Linked DNA regions of Homo sapiens: region 2 is linked to region 1. The links are contacts of gene promoters, found by promoter capture Hi-C in blood cells and fetal thymus (Javierre and others, 2016). All regions are on one chromosome and are shown on one strand. Each heading gives the region's core, a stretch centred on a gene start or on the middle of the fragment in contact. The rest is flanking DNA. Distances are from core to core; before and after follow the strand shown.

The links. Contacts are between HindIII fragments. The CHiCAGO score rates a contact against its expected background, and 5 or more counts as called.
Region 2: a fragment that was not itself captured here is called in contact with the fragment with the promoter of SPTBN5 in region 1 in 6 of 17 cell types (total B cells, naive CD8 T cells, naive B cells and 3 more); the score reaches 7.4 in total B cells.

What each region holds. Positions count from the first base shown.
Region 1 is chr15:41,888,887-41,895,728 of GRCh38, reverse strand. SPTBN5 (spectrin beta, non-erythrocytic 5) reads left to right here and starts at 1,676. Exons shown (of 68, transcript NM_016642.4): 1 at 1,676-1,830; 2 at 2,183-2,447; 3 at 2,668-2,835; 4 at 5,524-5,640. The coding sequence starts at 2,232. LOC105370792 (a long non-coding RNA gene) reads right to left here and starts at 2,952. Exons shown (of 4, transcript NR_135681.1): 1 at 2,651-2,952; 2 at 393-502; 3 at 1-149. RefSeq lists enhancers at 2,832-2,891, 4,085-4,960. The HindIII fragment of the contact is 13,270 bases long and covers 1-3,820 here.
Region 2 is chr15:41,694,034-41,700,697 of GRCh38, reverse strand. It overlaps MGA (MAX dimerization protein MGA), which reads right to left. Exons shown (of 24, transcript NM_001400225.1): 3 at 3,675-4,623; 4 at 1,757-1,835; 5 at 1,539-1,634. Among named protein-coding and RNA genes, the nearest start is that of MIR626, 5.8 kb to the right of the region's middle. The HindIII fragment of the contact is 5,283 bases long and covers 1-4,562 here.

The DNA.
Region 1 (6,842 bases), core at 427-2,926:
ATCCCTGTTGAGGTCTATGTGCGAAGCACCACGCAGTTCAGTCTGTCCTCCCCGCTCACAACATCACACAGGACTCCACGGGCCGAGCAGTTCAGTCTGTCCTCCCACGCTCACAACATCACACAGGACTCCATGGGCTGAGGGTCTTACTAGGAGAAGGAACAAGCTCAGTCTCCCTGGGGTAAGCGGGTGGGATGAGGGACTTCCTAGAAGAAACAGGATTTTAACTGGGGCAGGCAGGATAGGTGAATGTGGATGATGGAGAATGGGAAAGGACGTTCAAAGCTGAAAGAGCAGCTGAAGCCCAGCCTTGGGGCAGGAGAGCTCTGGTCCTGCTCAGGAAATGGTGAGTGGCCCATGGAGAGCACCCAGAGTGAGGGGGGCAGACTAGCCTGGTTAGGTAAGCTGGCAGGCTTCCAAGGCCTGGCTGAGGCAAGGTCTGGCAAGTCTGGATTTTCCTTCCCAGGCTGTGGGAGGCTTCACAGGCACGAGCAGAGCTGCACTGTGGAAAGGTGCGGGGTGGTGGTGTCCAGGATGCCGAGTTAGGGGGTCCGTGATGAGGACCCCCAGGGGCAGTGAGGGCAGAAGGGGGGGTGCACGGGAGGACCGCCACAGCAACTGCTGCGAGCAAGGGAGGGACGCAGGGTGTCTGGAAGCCAGCCGCTGCAGAAGGGGCCTGGCAGGGAGAGGACAGCAGGAGAGGAAGCGTCTCTCAGACGCAGGAAGCCGCACCCCACCCGAGACCACGGCACCTCTCAGCGTCACCCCTGACTGCCTGCAGTGGGCCCAGGCGGTTCAAGTGTGACTCATCCCTAGCCCAGCTCTCAAGGGCGCGCTGAGCGGCTGTCCTGCTGTGGGCTGTGGCTGCCAGGAGCGCCTCCCTGAGGAGCGGGCTGTCGCTTCAGAGGCTCCAGGGCCGCTGGAAGACACCCACACACACACACCCCAGCCCACACTGCTACCCTGAGTTTAGCCAGAGGCGGGTGAGACCCCCAGAATTAGAACTCGCCTTCACTCTGGCATGTAGTCCACGGCTGCTCGGGGAGGAAGGGATGGGCGCCCACCAGCTCCCTCTGCACCCCTGCCTCCGAGCCCCGGGCCACGGCCAGCTCTGTGGAGCCCAGAGTTAACACCGTGTCTCTAATTTTGGAGGAGACTCCACAGCCCTCGCAGTTCCAGGTCACCCCTTCCTCCAGGGAGCCTACCCTTCAGCCCCGGGCTAGGCAGGCTGCACTCTGGCAGGGCCTGGAAAGCCAAGCCCAGGGTCTGTGAGGCCCTCAGTCTATGGGCTGTTCCCTGGGGGTGAATGAGAAGACCACGGCCCAGGACGCTCCCTCATCCCCTCGCCCTGGGTGCTCACAGAGAGGCCCCAAGAGGGTACAGAGGGCAGTCTCAGATTGGGAAGTGCGTCCACAGGCTTCCCACAGAGGCTCTGCCCTTTGGTACCTCCTACGCAGACTGCAGCACCCCATGCGGTGGCAGGGCCGCTCCATGGGCCTCTGCGTCCTGGGAGCCAGGACCCCCACCTGGAGTTGGAGAAGTTGCTGGCGGGGAAGGGAGGATGATGAAGGAGGACATCATCTGGCAATGGCCCTGGAGCATTCCTGAACCACCCCCTCCCTGTCTGGGCCACGCCCTGTGGCAGGTGGGAGGACAATGCCGCCTGTGTGCCGTCACCCCAGCACGCTGGCTCAAGGGGAGGGCTGTGGTGCAGCCCTGCTCCAGCCTTGGCCTCTCCTGATGTCCCTCTCCCTCCCTCCACAGCCCCTGCTATCTGCCATCTCCATCCGTCCAGCTGGGCCGCCTCTGTGGAACCCAGGCATCACCAAGGTAAGCAGCCCCTGCTATCTACCATCTCCATCCGTCCAGCAGAGCCGTCTCTGTGGGACCCAGGCATCACCAAGGTAAGCAGTTTCCTGTCTTCCTTCCACCTGTCCCAGTCACTGTGGTGGAGGGACCTGGCAGCAGGGGCTCTGAGAAGAAGAATCTGGAAGGTGGGGTGGGGCAAAGGGGGCCCTGGGCCATTCAAGCACAGGGGACCAGAAGCACTGGCCCTTACCTGGCTGGGCTCCAAGCTGCAACCCCCATGAAATGTGAGGACAGTCTGGCAAGGCGGGACCCCAGGCCCCTGGTAGAGGGGCCATCTCCATTCACATCATCCCCTAATCTGCATGCCCTCCAGGTTTAGGGAGCCATCCAGCAGCTCCTCATCCCCAAAGTCTGCAGGGCTGATGGCTGGTCAGCCCCACAGTCCCCGGGAGCTCCTCGGGGCTGCAGGGCACCGCAGCAGGAGGCCCAGCACAGAACTCCGGGTCCCGCCCAGTCCAAGTCTCACCATGGACTCTCAGTACGAGACGGGCCACATTCGCAAGCTACAGGCCCGGCACATGCAGATGCAGGAGAAGACTTTCACCAAGTGGATCAATAACGTCTTCCAGTGCGGCCAGGTGAGTATAGCCAGCTGTGACCCACAGCCCACCCATACCAGGCCCCCAGCTCTGGCCAGTGGGCCTCCGGGGTGAGCTGTGGGGTCATCTGCCTGAGGCCAAGCTGAGGCCAGAGCTCCTTCTTCCAAAGCAGCTGCTCTGGGTCGTACCTCTCAGGTCCCAGGATGGGAGGACAGGTGAGGCTGGGCTGACCCCATACTTACCCCTGTCCCCTCCCCAGGCGGGCATCAAGATCCGGAACCTGTACACAGAGCTGGCTGACGGCATCCACCTCCTGCGGCTGCTGGAGCTCATCTCAGGGGAGGCCCTGCCACCCCCGAGCCGGGGCCGCCTGCGTGTGCACTTCCTGGAGAACAGCAGCCGAGCTCTGGCCTTCCTCAGGGCCAAGGTGGGCCCCAGGGAAAGGGGTCTGGGATGGTGCTGGGGCAGGCAGCTGGGACAGGCTGAACTACTGGGTCACCTTTCCTGCGCCAGGCCACTGGGCAGAACAGAGGAGCTGGGGCCTGAGTACAGGAGGAGTGGCTGGGACACAGAGGAGCAGAAGCCACGCCCTCCTCGCACAGCACCCCTGACTTGGAGAGCACCCAGCTGGCCATGGCAGTAGCAATCCAGGTCCCTACTGGGGTGGAAAATGTCACTGTCTGTCATAAGAGAGACTCACAGGATTCTAGGCCAAAAGAATCTTAGCGTTCTCTTAGGCTTTTCATTTCACAGATGAGGAAACAGAGGCCCTGAATTATTTACCAGGCAAGATCGATGGTTAACCAGCCAACAGAGCCCAGATGTGGGACTAAGACGGCAGGTGGGGAAGAGGAGCAGGGCCTGTCTTGGAGAAGGAGGGAGGAGGCCTCAGCAAATGGGGGGAGGCAGAGTCACCTGAAAGAAAGGGACAGGCTAAGGAGATGGGCACTAAAAGGAGGCCGGAGCTCCAGGGACAGAGGGACCCTCATGGCCAGGGTGAGGGGCTGGTGCAGGGGTGGGGTGGGGCAAAGGGATCATTGGAAACCGGGAACTGTGAAGGCCAAGGGCTCCTGGAGGTGGCTGTCCCTGGAGGCTGTGAAGTCACTGAGCTGGGCCTGGCTGGATGGAGCCTGACTGTGCGTGCCTATCACTATATCCTGGAGTGGAGCTTACATCCAGCCTCCTGGGGTGTGTTGGAGGAAAGCCAGGGAGGGGAGAAGCCCAAGCAAAGGGAATGGGAGTGACTGCTGTCCTGAGCAGGTGCAAGAGCAGAACGCTGCCAGCTGCAGAATGCTGGGCCCTAGTTGATCCAGGGACAATGACCCTGTGAGCCAGTCATCTCCCCTCCAGGAACTGGGGAAGGGTGTAAGCCCCACAGCCTTTGTCAGAGGTGTTGCAGCTCTCCCCAAGCTTTAATATACAGCATGTCACTGATACCTGTGAGGGTGACATCCTTGTCTCCATACACATAGGAGGCAACTGTGGTCTAGAAAGGATGACGGAGTTGCCGCAAACACACAGGGAATGTGTGGCAGAATGAGGGATGCATTCGCTTATGGAGATGCTCCCATGCCCTGGGCATTCTATGCAGGCGCTGGGCTCCACTAAGCAAAGCCCAGACCCCCACCTCAAGGCACCTGGCTTCAAAGGGAGACAGATTCATTGAACCCAGATCAGCGGTGTGCTGGTAAACGTTTAACAAATGATTCTCTGGGGGAAATAAAAACTCCAGTGTGCTGTATTCGCTGATCCTATGGCGTTAATACCCCCCATCACGGTGAGTTTAAGCCACCAGCGTGACATCGCTCAATAGGAAGTCAGGAGGATAGGCTCTCAGGAGCTGGGAGGAGCAGACAAACACCCCACTCACCAGAGGCTCCAACTCTAAGCCAAGGTGATTGACATGGCAGGTGGAATCCACCCCAGGAGCATGGGTGGGATCCTTTAGAGGCCAGCCAGATATACCAAAGTTTACCTAGGGGGACACCCAGGATTGCAGCTCCTCCCACAGGGCTAGTAGTGGCCGGCTGAAGCCAGTTGCCCTTCAGGTCTTATGGAAAGTCTCACTCCTTTTCTTTCTCCATTCAGTACTTACTGATCGATTGCCTGCTGTGTGCCACTCCCCTAGGATACACCAGAAAACAAAGCCAAGATCCTCACTTGAGCAGGGCAAGGGGATCGAGAGTGTGTATTTGGGTGGGAGAAATAGTCCTTAAGTTTCTGTGTTAAATAAAGTGGTCAGGCTAGGCAACATCTGAGTGAAGAGTTAAAGGCAGGGAGGTGAATAGCCATGCAGATACCTGGGAGAATACTTTCAGACAGCAGGCACGGCCCTGCAAAGGCCTGAAGTCCTGTGCTTAGAATCCCATGGAACTATAAGAATCCCATGGGCCTTGGAGCTATGTGATTCCACAGGGTGGAAGATGGAGCCACAGGGGGCTGGGGGCCAGATCCTGCAGGGCTTCTCCCCTTGACTCACCCATCCTCCCTGTCCAAATGGCAGGATGTAGGGCAGAGGAGTCTCAACTTTGGTGTACCTAAGAGCCACCCAAGGTGTTGTTCAAGTGCAAATTCCCAGGCTCTGGCCCAAGACAGTCTGACTGGGTGGAGCCTGGGAGTCTGGATTTATAGCTGGCCCTGTTGGAGCCGGAACAGAAGAAGAGGGCTGAGATTTGGGTGTGAGCCCAGGGACCCAGCCACCCCCTGAAGATCCCAGGACACCCTGGGAGATGGAGGCAGACAGTTGCTATTGTCTGTTGGGCTCACACATTGACTGTTATGACCCCTCATTTCCAAACCCTGCAGCTGAACCACTGATCTTGGCCCAGGTCTACCTGTAGCCCACACACAGGGAGTCCTCCTGCTCTGAGGGCCCAGCCCAGTTCACCAGGTTGGGGCTTCACCCAGGTGGGCTTGAGGCCATGGCTCCAACCAGGCAGGAAGCCTTTGCTTTCCTGGACTTATCCCCTGCCTGCTTCTCCCTGAGGGAACTCCCAGCTGGGGCAGGATAGATTCCAGGATGCTCCCATCCCGCAGCTGGCCCCCTAAGCTTTTGGTGACTGAGTCCTCTCTGGACATGGGCTTCATGGCTTAGCCCATCCAACTGTGCCCACAGGTGCCAGTACCACTCATCGGGCCAGAGAACATCGTGGACGGAGACCAGACACTCATCCTGGGACTCATCTGGGTCATCATTCTGCGTTTCCAGATCTCCCACATCTCCTTGGACAAGGTATGGCTCAGTCCCCAGTACCCAGCACCTGGTGACCCAGCCCAGCCCTGGCCTCACCTCAGACCCCTGGGGATTCATAAGTTCCACACAACTTTTATGATCCCCATAGGAGATCCTGGAAACTGCAAAGTCCATATTCACTCTCCAACCATGGGTGAAGAACCCAGGATACCAGAGATATTGTAACATTGTAATATGCTAAAGTGAGGGCCAGGGCCATGGGCTTCAAACCAGGTCTGGGCAAGTCATTCACTAGTGGGGGGTTCAGGGTCACTGCCCAGCACCCACTTTCACCCCTGTGTGGTGCTCCCCACTTGGCACTGAGGCTCTGTAACTTCCATTACACCACAATGTACTGTTGGGAAAAATGAAATGTGTGGAGGGAGTCCCAGCTCTGGAGGTTTACAAAGTCCCTGGCACCCTACACACCAAAGATACAGCATTTCTTTCATGGTCCCCAGCTTCCTTCATTCCACCTCTTTCCCCCACACTGGATCAGAAAGACTATAAACTCTTTGTGGCACATGCCTGTAGTCCCAGCTCTCGGGAGGGCTCAGGTGGGAAGCTAACCTGAGCCCAGGATGCTGAGGGTGTGATGAGCCGAGATCACACCACTACACTCCAGCCTGGGTCACAGAGTGAGACCGTGTCTCAAAAAAAAAAGAAAGAGTCCTTATAGTTATACTTTTTCATAGTTTCATGATTTCCAAAATGCCACCTAAAACTCAATTCTAGTAGGTAAGGAAAGCCAACCTGGAGAATGAAACCCTCATGAAAAGAAGCCAGAGATCTGGCAGAAGTCCAGGATGGCCTGGAAACTCAGGGCCTGAGCCCCAGGAGAGCAGGGGTCTTGTGTGTCTGCAGGCTGAGCATCTATTTGAAGGCTGAAGGGACGGATGAATTTCTAACTGACCTCAAGCCCTTTCAGGAAGCCATACTCACCTCCTCAGGCCCCTGGCCAGTTTCAGGTGTCCCCTGCAGCCCAGGCCCTTGGGAGCAGCAGGTGGGCATCCTCCCTGACCAGCACCGTCTCTGTCTGTCTGCAGCCCCCTCCAGCCCTGCTCCCTGCTGACTCAGATATGTTTGGGCTCAGGCTAGCCCCGATCCCTCACAAGCCATCCCAGCATTTTCCTTAGTTCCGTCTGCCAGCCTGGCCCCACCATGCAGGGTACTGGGGCCTGACCTCGCTGGGGCCCAGGGCC
Region 2 (6,664 bases), core at 672-3,171, 200 kb after region 1:
CATGATGTTAATAACCATAGTAGATATGTTTTTTTAAAGATTAAGCAACATAATCAAGGTCAAGATAATGCATTACAATAAAATAAAGATAAAAATGAAAACTGCAGCCATAAAAAAGAATGAGTTCATGCCCTTTGCAGGGACATGGATGAAGCTGGAAGCCATTATTCTAAGCAAACTAACATAGGAACAGAAAACCAAACACTGCATGTTTTCACTCGTAAGTGGGAGATGAACAATGAGAACACATGGATGCAAGGAGGGGAACATCACACACCAGAGCCTGTTGGTGGGGAGGGAGAGCATTAGGACAAACACCTAATGCATGCAGGGCTTAAAACCTAGATGACAGGGCCGGGCGCGGTGGCTCACGCCTGTAATCTCAGCACTTTGGGAGGCCGAGGCGGGCAGATCATGAGGTCAGGAGATCGAGACCATCCTGGTTAACACAGTGAAACCCCGTCTCTACTAAAAATACAAAAAAAATTAGCCGGGCATGGTAGCAGGCGCCTGTAGTCCCAGCTACTTGGGAGGCTGAGGCAGGAGAGTGGTGTGAACCCAGGAGGCAGAGCTTGCAGTGAGCTGAGATCGTGCCACTGCACTCCAGCCTGGGCGAGAGCGAGACTGCGCATCAAAAAAAAAAAAAAAAAAAAAAACCTCGATGACAGGTTGATAGGTACAGGAAACCACCATAGCACATGTATAACTATGTAACCTGCACATTCTGTACACGTATCCCAGAACTCAAAGTAAAATTTTAAAAAAAAAAGATAATGAAAATTTTAAATTAACTTCCCAGTGGTACATCAAATATATAAAATAGATGTTTGCAGCCAAAACATGAGACAGAAAAGTATTCTACTGTTTACACACCTAAATATACTACTAAAGGACAAGGAAGACCCTTCCTCCAAAATTATAAAAACAAACACATAATTGGGAGGCCGAGGCGGGCGGATCACAAGGTCAGGAGATCAAGACCATCCTGGCTAACACGGTGAAACCGTCTCTACTAAAAATACAAAAAAATTAGCCAGGCGCGGTGGCAGGCGCCTGTGGTCCCAGCTACTTGGGAGGCTGAGGCAGGAGAATGGCATGAACCCAGGAGGCGGAGCTTGCAGTGAGCAGAGATTGCACCACTGCACTCCAGCCGCCTGGGCGACAGAGCGAAACTCCGTCTCAAACAAACACACACACACACACATAAACAAAAGCAACCAAATTAAGATGAGAAACGGGAAGGGGAGAATACCAGGTTATAAGAATGAACAAAGAAAATATCACTTGCTTTACCATGATACATTTTTTTCTTACATAAGATATTAGACATGGTTTTTAAACTAAAGGGAAGAATTATGGAGACAGAGAAGAGAAAAATATGCAAACTGAAAGACGTGCTGAAAGAAATGAAATCAAGGCTAGAAAGAAAGAGGAAAAAACAGAAAAAAAGAGATGAGAAAGAGAGAGGAAAAAGAGGAGAAACAGTAGGGAAGAAAGAAAAAAAGAAAACAAAAAAAAAGAAGTCGCTAGTCTATTACCTTCTTGAAGACCAGGATGTATCACCTGCTTGTGCCGCAAAGTCTTCAAATCTTCTATCAATTCCTTTTCCAACTGGGAAATTCTTGCTCTGTAACCTACACCCAAAATAAATAGTAATAAAATAAGCTACTGTACACTACAGACAAATGAATGTTGCATGTTTCATTGCTGGAGCCCAAACCACAAATACAACTCTTTTTATACTATTTTATAATACCTGAGTCATTTGTGGTTGATGCCTGGAGACTAGAAGATTCTTCTGTTGTCCCATCAACTGCATGAATGTCTAGAGCTTCCTATACATCAAAAAAAAAAAAAAATAGTAGTTCATATTGCTTCTGAAAACTTAAATGTAAAACAGGATTAAAAAAAACTTAAAGACCAGAAGGAAAATATCTCCATGCCTACAGTTACGCTAACATTGGCAGAACAGGAGCAATTTTTTCATACTTTTTGATATTTTCTAAGTGTTCTACATTAATATTACTTTAATAATCAGAAGGGGAAAAGGGGGAAGTAAAAAAATGTGAATACGATGTCATACTGAGCTAACTGACCTCAAAGTATACGCCAATTTGCATGTTCACTTCTCAGAGCCTATATTCAGATAGCTTACTCAGCTAACAAGAAGGGAGGAAAAGAACAGGTAGAAGGGATTAAATATCCAACATCTGTGTAGTCAATTAAGAAAGACAGCCTGGCACAGTGGCTCACGCCTATAATCCCAGCACTTTGGGAGGCCGAGGCAGGTGGATCACAAGGTCAGGAGATTGAGACCATCCTGGCCACATGGTGAAACCCTGTCTCTACTAAAATAAAAAAAATAGCTGGGCATGGTGATGCACACCTGTAGTCCCAGCTACTCGGGAGGCTGAGGCAGGGGAACTGCTTGAACCCGGGAAACAGAGGTTGCAGTGAGCCAAGATTGTGCCACTGCACTCCAGCTGGTGACAGAGCAAGATTCCGTCTCAAAAAAAAAAAAAAAAAGAGGCCAGGGGCAGTGGCTCACGCTTGTAATTCCAGCACTTTGGGAGGCTGAGGCAGGAGGATCACGAGGCCAGGAGATCGAGACCATCCTGGCTAATATGGTGAAACCCCGTCTCTACTAAAAATACAAAAAAAATTAGCCGGGCATGGTGGCGAGCACCTGTAGTCCCAGCTACTCGGGAGTCTGAGGCAGGGGAATGGCAAGAACACAGGAGGCGGAGTTTGCAGTGAGCCAAGATTGCGCTACTGCACTCCAGCATGAGCCACAGACCGAGACTCCATCTCAAAAAATAAATAAAAAAAGACTGGGCTTCTATAAAAATTTCCAAGAAAAATAATCTGGTTGAAGAGTCAGAGTGGAATAAACAGAGACTTCAATGTGTAAGACAGGAGAGTTAAGATGACTGTTAATATTTGGTTCTCCAATGGTACTCTACTACTACTACTGAAAACCAGGGCCAGGAGCGGTGGCTCATGCATGTAATCCCAGCACTTTGGGAGGCTGAAGCAGGCAGACTGCTGGAGGCCAGAAGTTAGAAATTAGCTGGCCAACATTGCAAAACCCCGTCTCTACCAAAATTACAAAAATTAGCTGGGTGTGGTGGCACACGCCTGTAATCCCAGCTACTCGTGAGGCTGGGGCACGAGAATGGCTTGAACTCGGGAGACGGAGATTGCAGTGAGCTGAGATCGTGCCACTGAACTCCAGCCTGGGCAACAGAGCAAGACTCTGTCTCAAAAAAAAAAAAAAAAGAAAAGAAAAATAAAAGAAAACCAGGAGGTAAAAGAAATGGAGCGTCACCAAAGAGTTAGTAAATATTTCATGTATTTTTAGTCCTTTCCAAAATCCATAATGATGAAAATTCCAGTAAGACCCGAAGACTTTTTTTAAACACAGCTATGCAAAAATCGTAAACTGAAATCTAAGCAAGACATACTTTTTTAAGTCTATTCAAATGAAGTATCTTAAGTTATTCCTATTAACTAAACCAAACATTTTGGAGACACTTCCCTCCCAACTCCACCCCCCATACACCCTCACAAATAGATATCACAAAACTAGATTGTAAATCGAGTTACTTACAAGCCAGTATACAATTCAAGTATGACTAATTAGCCTTAAAGAATCCTGAAAATTACAATCTTACCTTTGATTCAAAGGAAACAAAGAGAACACCATCCACATCTTCCAGATCAGGCTTCACATCTGGAAAGGTACTCCCAGGGCTTACAGGTGTATTCTTTGTAGAAATTAAAGACTTTCCTGTGTTCTTAGGTGGTCGTCCTGCCTTACAGAGTTTCAATTTTCGTGGCCTTCCTCTTTTTCCAGGGACATTTGGAGAGGCATTCTGATTAGCATTCACTACCTTTGCGGCTGTTGCAATCTTAAGCATAGTTGTTCTCTTTCTGCCCAAGTCCTCTTTTCCTGAAAGTGAGTCTCCAACTGAATCCTTTGAATCGTCGAGTATTCTTTCTGTGCTAATGCTGTCAGATATATCAGGATATTTCCACTGAGGCTCTTTCAGTAAGGGATATTTTTGTACCACTCTGAGATCTGGTGAATGTTTTCTAAGACCATTTTCTGATTCCTTGCCTAAGCAGAAGGCAGTCTCATTGGAATTTTCAATGTATGTAGGCAAATATTCCAATTCTGCCAACATAGAAGATTTATCCTTTCGAGATGTGGAAAGCATGTTATCGGGGAGTTCAGAAATCTTAACTGTGCTTCTGGTGACAGCACAGGGCTCCAGATAGACTACTGGCATCTTTCCAGTGTCTAATTTGAACATTTTAGCTTTAGCAACACCTGATGGGCTGCTTGGAAGCCATTTAGAAGATAGATGGTCAGCTTCTGGGTTGTCAACTTTATTGTGCCTCTTTAGCTGTTTCTCTAGTATAGGATCATCATCACTGTTTGAGTATACATCCGTCTCTTCATCTGTCTCTTCCTGTTTCACAGTGACCCCTTCTGGGCACTCACCAAGTTCGTAGTCATAATCATCTAGAGGTTCCTCTTTAATAACAACATTGAAGCTTCCGTTCTGGTCTAACGGTGAGGCTACACGGGAGTCATCTTCAAAACTGCTGGCAATAAGACTGGAGAGAGAGAGGAGAAAGGGATTTTAAAAGTACAAAATGATCCATTAACAAGACTTGAAGAGAAAAAAAAAAAAAGATGTTAGGAATCCAAGTAACACATCAGATTTCCTGAGCCATTCCTCAAAAACACTCAAAAACTCTAAAAATCCACACGGTGATTAACAACCCTGTAAAGCGAACACACATCCATCACAACTAAGAATTGCAACACAAACCGGAAAGGGCCATTAAACTGCCAGCTGATATTTTCCTGTATGTTTTGAGATTAAATTCACATAACATAAAACATAATATTGCAGCAATTTTAGAGTATACAATTCATTGGTTTTTAGTATAGTCATGATGTTGCCAGATGATTTTCCAACTTTAAAATTGAAAAACTCACTTTCAATATAAAGAATTCACCACTAATTCTTCCAAAATAAAAGATAGGGAGTTAAAGGCAAATACGTATGACCCAGATATATTGTGTATAATTCATCCAAAAACAACATAAACATCTAGTTTCCCCCTCCTCCCAATCATCCATTGAAAGCCTAAGAACTGTACCAATGTATCTTGAGAATATGGTAGAAATAAAAAATTGGGCAGGAGCGATGGCTCACGCCTGTAATCCCACTACTTTGGGAGGCTGAGGCAGGCGGATCACAAGGTCAAGAGATTGAGACCATTCTGGCCAACATGGTGAAACCCCATCTCTACTAAAAATACAAAAATTAGCTCAGCGTGGTAGCACATGCCAGTAGTCCCAGCTACTCAAGAGGCTGAGGCAGAATAATCGCTTGAACCCGGGAGGCGGAGGTTGCAGAGAGCCGAGATTGTGCCACTGCCTCCAGCCTGGCGACAGAGCAAGACCCTGTGTCAAAAAAGAAAAAAAAAAAAAAGATTCCACATAAAGTAATGACGAATTAAAATTCTCAGACTCAGAAATTCTAAAACTGCACCTCTCATTTCCCCCCACCTCAAAATATCCATACAAGTCAACACGTTAGCAGCACAGGAAAGCAGGATGAAAACTGCTTTGAGAAAAACTATACACACCACTATATATATTCACTAACAAATAACATGTAACAAAGGATTGTGGGCATTTTTTTTTAAATAGTTCAAAGCCTATGACTGAAAACAGCATTTATAGCCAGGCATGGTGGCACACGCCTGTAGTACCAGCTATTCAGAAGACTGAGGTGCCAGGACTGCTTGTGCCCAGGAGTTCGAGGCTGCAGTGAGCTACAATTGCACCACTGAATTAAACCCTGGAGCCGGGCGCAGTGGCTCACGCCTGTAATCCCAGTGCTTTGGGAGGCCGAGGCAGGTGGATCACGAGGTCAGGAGATCAAGACCATCCTGGCTAACACGGTGCTAAAAATACAAAAAATCAGCTGGGCGTGGTGGCGGGCGCCTGTAGTCCCAGCTACTCGGGAGGCTGAGGCAGGAGAATGGTGTGAACCTGGGAGGCGGAGCTTGCAGTGAGCCGAGATCGTGCCACTGCACTCCAGCCTGGGCAACTGAGCAAGACTCCGTCTCAAAAAAAAAAAAGAAAAAAAGCCTGGGCAACAGAGCAGGATGCCTCCTCTAAAATAAATAAACAAAAAATTTAAAATTTCAAAAATAAGAAAACAGCATTTACACAACTAAAATATTTTCTTCTGATCAGTCACTTTTTTTTTCCCTGAGATGGGGTCTTGCTCTGTCACCCAGGCTGGAGTACAGTGGCAACCTCCACCTCCAAGGTTCAAACAATTCTCCTGCCTTGGCCTCCCGAACAGCTGTGATTATAGGCATGCACCAACACGCCCGGCTAATTTTTGTATTTTTAGTAGAGATAGGGTTTTACCATGTTGGCCAGGCTGGTCTCGAACTCCTAACCTCGTGATCCGCCCACCTCAGCCTCCCAAAGTGTTGGGATTACAGGTGTGAGCCACCACGCCCGGCCCAGTCACTTTTTAAAAAGTTAGGTAGGTAGGTTTCCATTAATAGTGTGAAATAGCTCAGAGCAGACTGACCCTCCTCCACTTAGAACTAGAAAAGTTACACT